2 separate regions of the Homo sapiens genome follow, and region 1 is linked to region 2. Evidence: promoter capture Hi-C in 16 types of primary human blood cells and fetal thymus (Javierre and others, 2016). All regions are on one chromosome and are shown on one strand. Each heading gives the region's core, a stretch centred on a gene start or on the middle of the fragment in contact. The rest is flanking DNA. Distances are from core to core; before and after follow the strand shown. Region 1 holds the start of SRSF8 (serine and arginine rich splicing factor 8). Region 2 holds the start of MED17 (mediator complex subunit 17).

The links. The method cuts DNA at HindIII sites, captures the fragments that hold promoters and counts their contacts. A CHiCAGO score of 5 or more calls a contact.
Region 1: a fragment that was not itself captured here is called in contact with the fragment with the promoter of MED17 in region 2 in 2 of 17 cell types (naive CD8 T cells and total CD8 T cells); the score reaches 8.0 in naive CD8 T cells.

The regions. Positions count from the first base shown.
Region 1 is chr11:95,064,233-95,067,873 of GRCh38, forward strand. SRSF8 (serine and arginine rich splicing factor 8) reads left to right here and starts at 2,687. Exons shown (of 1, transcript NM_032102.4): 1 at 2,687-3,641. The coding sequence starts at 2,995. RefSeq lists enhancers at 2,511-3,268, 2,993-3,182 and a silencer at 2,663-2,742. The HindIII fragment of the contact is 4,351 bases long and covers 1-3,641 here.
Region 2 is chr11:93,782,061-93,786,045 of GRCh38, forward strand. It overlaps MED17 (mediator complex subunit 17), which reads left to right and starts at 2,222. Exons shown (of 12, transcript NM_004268.5): 1 at 2,222-2,703. The coding sequence starts at 2,454. RefSeq lists enhancers at 2,043-2,337, 2,279-2,498 and silencers at 2,629-2,758, 2,760-2,954. The HindIII fragment of the contact is 2,360 bases long and covers 864-3,223 here.

The DNA.
Region 1 (3,641 bases), core at 562-3,061, 1.3 Mb after region 2:
CTCTTAGTAGTTCAGTTTTGGGAGGAGTCAAAAGTATTTGAGGAGTTTCAACTGCACAGGGATTCAGCACCCTGAATCCCCTCATTGTTCCAGGGTCAACTGTACATGTATCTGTGTCTGGTCTCAGTATCTGTGCTTAGAGGTACTGTTGATATCAGCTCAAATATTACAGTTTGATAAGGGAGAAGTCTTTTTTTTGTTTTAAGGCATCATTTTGGGGGTTGTCATTTAAATATTTGACTCTAACAGTGCTAGCTCTACCGCCTTGAACAAGTGACTTAATGTCTCAATGACTCAGTTCTGTCATCTGAAAATTAGAGGTATGAATCTTCTTATAGGTCATAAGAATTAAATGATTTATTGTACCAAGAGTAAACCGAACAGTGTTTGCCATGTTATAGTCACCAGGTATGTTAGCTATTTTAAATAATATTTTACTATTAGAAATAAAGAGGGACTTCTGTTCATCAAAAGATATGAAAAAAAGAGAGAAATGACAAACCAAGGAGTGTGAACTGATATTGTATTACTCATATCCAGCAAAGAGCTGATATCCATTATATATAAAGAGCTAGTGCAGAGAACGCCAACCCAATAGAAAAATGGACAAAATACATAATAGGCAGCTTATGAGTAAGAATACCCAAATGGCCAATGAACGTGAAAAAATTACTCACTCTCATTTGCAGTTAGGGAAATGAATTTTTTTTTTTTAAGTTTTAAGTGACAAAATCTCACTGTGTCACCCCAGGCTGTTGTGTGGGGACGAAATCACAGGTAAAACAAATCTTAATGCCCTCACCTAACTGGCTAAAACTAAAAAGTCTGATATTCACCAAAGGTTTGCAAAAGTGAAGAGCACTGAGCACCCTCATACACAGCTATCCTGTGTGTAAATTGATAAAAACTGTTGAAAAACAATCAGGCATGGTAAAGTTTGAATTCACATACAGTTGTCCCTTGATATTCTGCAGGTGGATGGGGTTTGGTCCTTAGTAACCCCTGAGGATTCTGAGGATTTTCAAGTCCATATATAAAATGGCTTGGTATGAGCATGTAACCTATACGTATTTTCCAACATACTTTAAGTCATCTCTAGATTACTTACATTATGATGAAAATGCTATGTAAATAATTGTTTACTGTATTATGTTCTATTTATTTTTATTGTTTTTTTTTTCTGAATAATTTCTACCCACAGTTGGCTGAATTCACTGATGCTGAAGCCAGAGGTTACAGTGGGCTGCCTGTATTCTGTGACAAGGGATCCATTCATACCTAAGAGGACACATGAGCTCCAGTATACATGTCCAAGCATGTTCTGAGCAACACTGTAAGAGGCCAAAAGTGGAAACAACCCAAGTGCCCATCAACAGCACAAACATTTATACCATTGAATGCCTTACGGCAAGGTAACAGGATCAAGTACAGCTACATGGAACACATAGATGAGGGAAATAAAACACAAAATACATTAAAATATAAAAAGCACAATTCTATGTATATAAGGTTACATAACATTTTCAAAATCAGCAACGTTTTAATTAATTTAATTAATTTAGAATTCTCCTGCAGAGGAGTTTTCTCTCTTTTCTCCAATGTGTTAATTTATTTAATCATTTATTTACAACAGCACAGATTAATATTTATTTTATATTTTGGAATATGATATAGTAGTATTTTAGTTTGTTCCTTAAATTGTTCAAGATTTGGCCATTGGGAGCTGTTTTATTGGTTTTTGTACCCCTCTAAAATTACCCCATCAATGCTTTTGTTTGTTTTCTATTTATCACATCCTTATTTTCCAGCACTCCAAGATGCTCTAGGCCCTTTCTGTATATTTCCTTTCCAGATTTAGAAACTGTATTTCTTCATCAGTATTGCTAGATTGTTTTTTTCTTTAAAAGTGTTAGATTTCAGTTTTATTAATCATCTTTTTAAAAAAACATATTGTCCCTTTTATTTGTAATTCTATTTTTATTTTAATGTTTTATTTTTTGTTTTGGTTTTGTTTTACTAATTGCTTGACTTCAACATAAAAAAAGTTTTAGAAATGTGGTTATTAATTTTCAAGTAAATATGATTGGATTCAGGTTTTTTATTTTTAACCTTCAATATTATTTCACTGAGGTCCAGATGTGCTGAATTTATTGACCTATTAAATTTTAATTGACATTTATTTTGTAGTCTTGTATTGGGAAATTCTTCTGTTTTCTATATATTTTTGGTTGTTGCAGGTTATATGATCAAAATTGTTGTTTGTTGTGCAAATTATTATAGCATTACTAGTTTTGTTCTCTGCACTATTGATTTCTGAGAAAACGGTGTTACGGGGAAAAAACAAACTTCCATCATGAGTGCAGATTTTTCAGTTTTACCTTATAACTCTCAGTCTTGGCTATGTGTCACTGTTATGTGTTTAGGTGCGTTAAGTTCATCACTGTAATGTTTTCCTAGTGAATTTTCTTTTCAATAACTATGAAATGTGCTCCTTTGATCCTATCAATACACTGGATATTAATATTGTTGCCCTAGGTTTCTTTTGTTTAATATTTGTCTGGATTGCCTGTTCCCATAAATTGACCTTTAATCAGTTAGCTTTGTTCTTAAGATTGGTTTAAAACGTAGAATAATAGGGAGGAGCATGGGAGGGTGGGACGTCTAATGTAAATCCAGCCCAGTGATTACATTAGCTGGGCGCTGATTAGGTTAGGATGTTGCCCAGGTACAAGGCCAGGATCTTCGGGGCCTGGCTTCATTTGGAGTTCAGCTACCAAAAGGAAACCTTCCTCTGGGTCCTGGAGTATTTGGCCTGAAATTGGGAACTCGGAAGTTGCTGCTCCAGGGCGCTCCCTGCGGAGCTCCGCCGCCCGCCTCTCCGCCCGGCCTTTCCCGGCGTCCCCACGCGGGGCGCAACCGCGAGAAAGAAACGCAGGTCGCACCGTCAGCGCCCAGAGCAGCGCCAGTTTCCGGGCCCGGGCTGCTCTCGGAGCCATGAGCTGCGGCCGCCCCCCTCCCGACGTGGACGGCATGATCACCCTCAAGGTGGACAACCTGACCTACCGCACCTCTCCCGACAGCTTGAGGCGCGTGTTCGAGAAGTACGGGCGCGTGGGCGACGTGTACATCCCGCGGGAGCCCCACACCAAGGCGCCCCGGGGCTTCGCTTTCGTCCGCTTTCACGACCGGCGCGACGCCCAAGACGCCGAGGCCGCCATGGACGGGGCGGAGCTGGACGGACGCGAGCTGCGGGTGCAGGTGGCGCGCTATGGCCGCCGGGACCTGCCCCGCAGCCGCCAGGGAGAGCCACGCGGCAGGTCCAGAGGCGGCGGCTACGGACGGCGGAGCCGCAGCTACGGGCGGCGGAGCCGCAGCCCCAGGCGGCGACACCGCAGCCGATCCCGGGGTCCCAGCTGCTCCAGGTCCCGCAGCCGATCTCGCTATAGGGGTTCTCGCTATAGCCGGTCTCCCTACAGCCGATCTCCTTACAGCCGGTCGCGCTACAGCCGCTCTCCCTACAGCAGATCTCGCTACAGGGAATCTCGCTACGGCGGATCTCACTACAGCTCATCTGGTTACAGTAACTCTCGCTACAGCCGATATCACAGCAGCCGGTCTCACTCGAAGTCTGGGTCCTCCAC
Region 2 (3,985 bases), core at 972-3,471:
TTACAGGCATGCATCACCACGCCCAGCTAGTTTTTGTATTTTTAGTAGAGACGAGGTTTCGTCATGTTGGCCAGGCTAGTCTCGAACTCCTGACCTCAGGTGATCCACCCGCCTCATTCTCCCAAAGTGGAGGATTACAGGCGTGAGCCACCGTGCCTGGCCACTTTGCCCCTTTATGTTGGGAACAAAGAAATCATACCAAAGATATCTGGCCCAAAAGCACTGGAGATATGGCATGGATACCCAAAGAACTGTGTATTCACACCATTATATTACAAAGTACTGACTGGCATGCCATTTAATGTATTTATTGATTAGCTCCAAATGGAACATTTTGGCTATGTGGCACTAACCTATGACCATGGTTACTTCCAGGATAGTTAGGATGATGTTTTTCAGGTTATGCTTAATCATATATTTGAGTAGTTTGTACTTTGCCAAAACCTGCAAATTTTCCTTATTTATGATCTCATTGGGTTCATCCTGTGTTTCATTGGTATGATCACTTAGCTTCCATCTTCATACCACAACTGAGTGTTGAAGATGTTATTTGGCATATAGAGGTCCTAACCAATTATACCCAAAAGATAGCTACATAAGTATTCCATTATTAAACAATAGTTATTCTTATGGAAAAGGCCATTATTACAAAACCGTATGGCTTTTGACATACTCACCGAAGCCCAGGGAGGAACTTGCATTATCATAAAAACTGTGTGTTATGTCTGTATCCCAGATGAATCAGATAATATCACTACGTTAATGGATAATATGAAAACCTTAACAACTAACCTTTCAGATCCAACACATCTTTAAACAACTGGCTAAGCAGCTAGTTTTGATCTTGAAGACTTGGTGGCAAAAGCTTTGCTTATTCTAGGAATCATAATCATTTGTTGTTGTCTTGTTTTTGTCTGCACTATTAGACTGCCACTGCGCCTGGCTATTAATCAGATTTTAAAATAAAGTTAAAAAAAATTTTTAAACAAATTTACACGAAAAGCAAGTACAGTGGTTCTCGAACATGATTGGGCGACAGACTGTACAGCTTGCCAGAAATAGGTTTCTCTCATGAAAATTCAACCCCCTCCACACACGGCCATCTACTTTCTTCTTCAGCAGGGACTGACACCAGGGCAACCGTATTTTCCTAAATACCTTAGGAAAGTAGTTCAAAACCTAGATATATCTTGGTCAGAACAAAACCTGGCAAACACTCATGATAAACGGTATATATAATTCCTTAAACGAAATATAGAGGTTTGTAATATAAAATAATCCATCTTTGTCTGTGGAATTCCTACTAATGAAATACGTTCTTGGAGACCCAAAGACTGAAGTTATACCACTTCTTCTTAATCTTTTAAATATTATTTGCAGGCCAGGCATGGTGACACGCTCCTATAGTCCCAGCTCCTCAGGAGGCTAAGGCAGGAGCATCGTTGGAGCCCAGGAGCTCCAGGCTGTAGCGTGCTGACAGCACTTGTGAATAACCTCTGCACTCAGCCTGGGCAACATAGTGGGACCCCATCACTAATAAAAAAGCGAGATCAACATTATTTATTCTGTTACTCGGGCATAAAATAAATATTAAGCACTTACTACATGCCAGAGTCTATTATGTCTGCTGCAGATATTGGCTGTCATAGAGTTATAACTAACAGGAAACCAAATAATTACGTAGTATAATTTTAAGTGGTGATAAGCACGATTGTTTCCCCCAAGCCATGCCCTTAATTTCTAACTCTTCAGATAGTGTTTCTTTAAAAAATTTCTTGCTAATTTAAAATAACTTTTGTTTTGAGGCAGGATCCCACTCTGTTGCTTAGGCTGGAATGCAGCGGTGAGATCTCGGCTCACTGCAGCCTCCATCTCCAGGGCTCAAGCCATTCTCCCGCCTCAGCCACCCGCGTAGCTGGACCACAGGCGCGCGCCACCAGATCTCAGTTCTCTCAACAGGACTCTCATTGCTAAGATCCAAGGATCCATTAATTTCCTTTTCCTTAACTCTTCTAGCCTCTGCAGCTTTCTTTCCTCATCCACTTTTTAAACAAACGCAGGCTTAAAAAGCAAGGAATATACCCGCCACACTCTCGGCTCCCAAACCGCTCTTTCCCTCCCTCTGCCGGCCACGCCTCTTATAGGCCCGGAAGTTTACCCCACCCTGCACCGTGATTCACCGGAAGCGCTCTAGGGAACCCTGGAGCTTCCGCGCCTGCCCAGTTTTGCTCCGAAAGACTTACCGAGGAGGGAGCTTGCGGTGCGTTCTGGGAAAGTTGCTGGGCCAGCTCCTTTGTTTCCAGTCTGAGCGTTGCGTTCGGTTTCCCGAGGGTCTTCTGAGGCACCGCGGCTGCGGGCTTCTGAGTTCCCGGCTCTCCGCAGGGAAGCCTCCTCTTCGTACCTCGTTTTTTGGCTCGTGGGGGGTCCTCCCACCGCTGGCCGACGCAGCCAGCATGTCCGGGGTGCGCGCAGTGCGGATCAGCATCGAATCGGCCTGCGAGAAGCAGGTCCATGAGGTGGGCCTGGATGGCACCGAGACGTACCTGCCCCCGCTGTCCATGTCGCAGAATCTGGCGCGTCTGGCCCAGCGGATAGACTTCAGCCAGGGTTCGGGCTCCGAGGAGGAGGAGGCGGCGGGGACCGAGGGCGACGCGCAGGAGTGGCCGGGCGCCGGGTCCAGCGCAGACCAGGACGACGAGGAAGGTAAGGCCTGCATCCGCTGCCCGAGTCCCCCGGTCTGGGTCCCAGCACCCGCGCGGGCCTCCGCCTCTCCCGCGATGGGGGTGATCTTGTGCGTGCGAGAACTTTTGAGTGTCCCTCTAGCGGAAGCGTAAGGATACTTGGTCGTCATCTTTTTGTTGCTGCCGGACAAGGTAGGACACGACTTTACGTAATACTCCTGCGGGTCTCCTTGAATGGCAGCGTTTAGAGACACTGTCAAACCGTGAAATGTTTAAATGAATGCTTCTCTGTAGAGGGCCTTTAATGTAGCACACTTAGTGGCTAAAAGAGCCCTAGATCGGGGCTCTGCCCCTTGCCGGCTGTGTGACCTTGGGCGAGTTACTTTGCATCCTTGTGCGGTGTGAATGATGATAGTAGCACCTGCAGAAAAGAGGTCTGTTTTGACTGAAATGTGTGACGAGGTCCAAGAGGTAGGCGGGTCCAGATCATGTAGAACCCAGTAGGCCGGGATAAGCGTTTGACTAGTGTTAAGACCACTGAAAGCTTTTGCAGGATAAGTAGAGATGGTTTTGTTAAAGTTTACTCTAGATGCTTTCTAATAAATGAATTATAGGGAAAGCAAAACTGGAAGGGAGGAGACTAGGAGGGAAGTGAAGAAATAATGAGTGGGTTTCAGATTCTCATTATTGTCAAGGATTTTTGAAAAAAAAATCAAAATTCTTAATTTAGTTATGCAGCACACCCAGTGTAAATGGGAATTTAAAGATGTCATTTCAGGGCAGTGCTGTTAGGATTATTAGGGGTCTATTTGCAAAAAAAGGTAAATACTACTTTATACCTCACACAAAAATTATTTCCACAGTAATTTTTGAGGATTGAAGTGCCAAATGAAGAAAGTAAAACAAAGTGTTAGAAGAAATAATGAAAGAATAGTTGTATTATTCTGGGAGTCGGATAGATCTTCTTAATTTCGGAAATAACAGGACAGGCATGGTGGCTCACACCTGTAGTTCCAACATTTTTGGAGGCCAAGGTGGAAGGATCACTTGAGCCCAGACTTCAAGACCAGCCTGAGCAACATAGGGAGCTCCTGCCTCTACAAATTAAAAAAATTAGCTGGGCGTGGTGGTGCACGTCTGTGGTCCCAGCTACTGGGGAGGCTGAGGGAGGAGGATGGATTCAGCCAGTGAGATCAAGGCTGCAGTGAGCTATGATTGTGCCACCGCACTCCAGCCTGGGTAACAGAACAAGACTCTAACATCCACACACACAACCACACACCTACCTACCTTACAAAGTATAG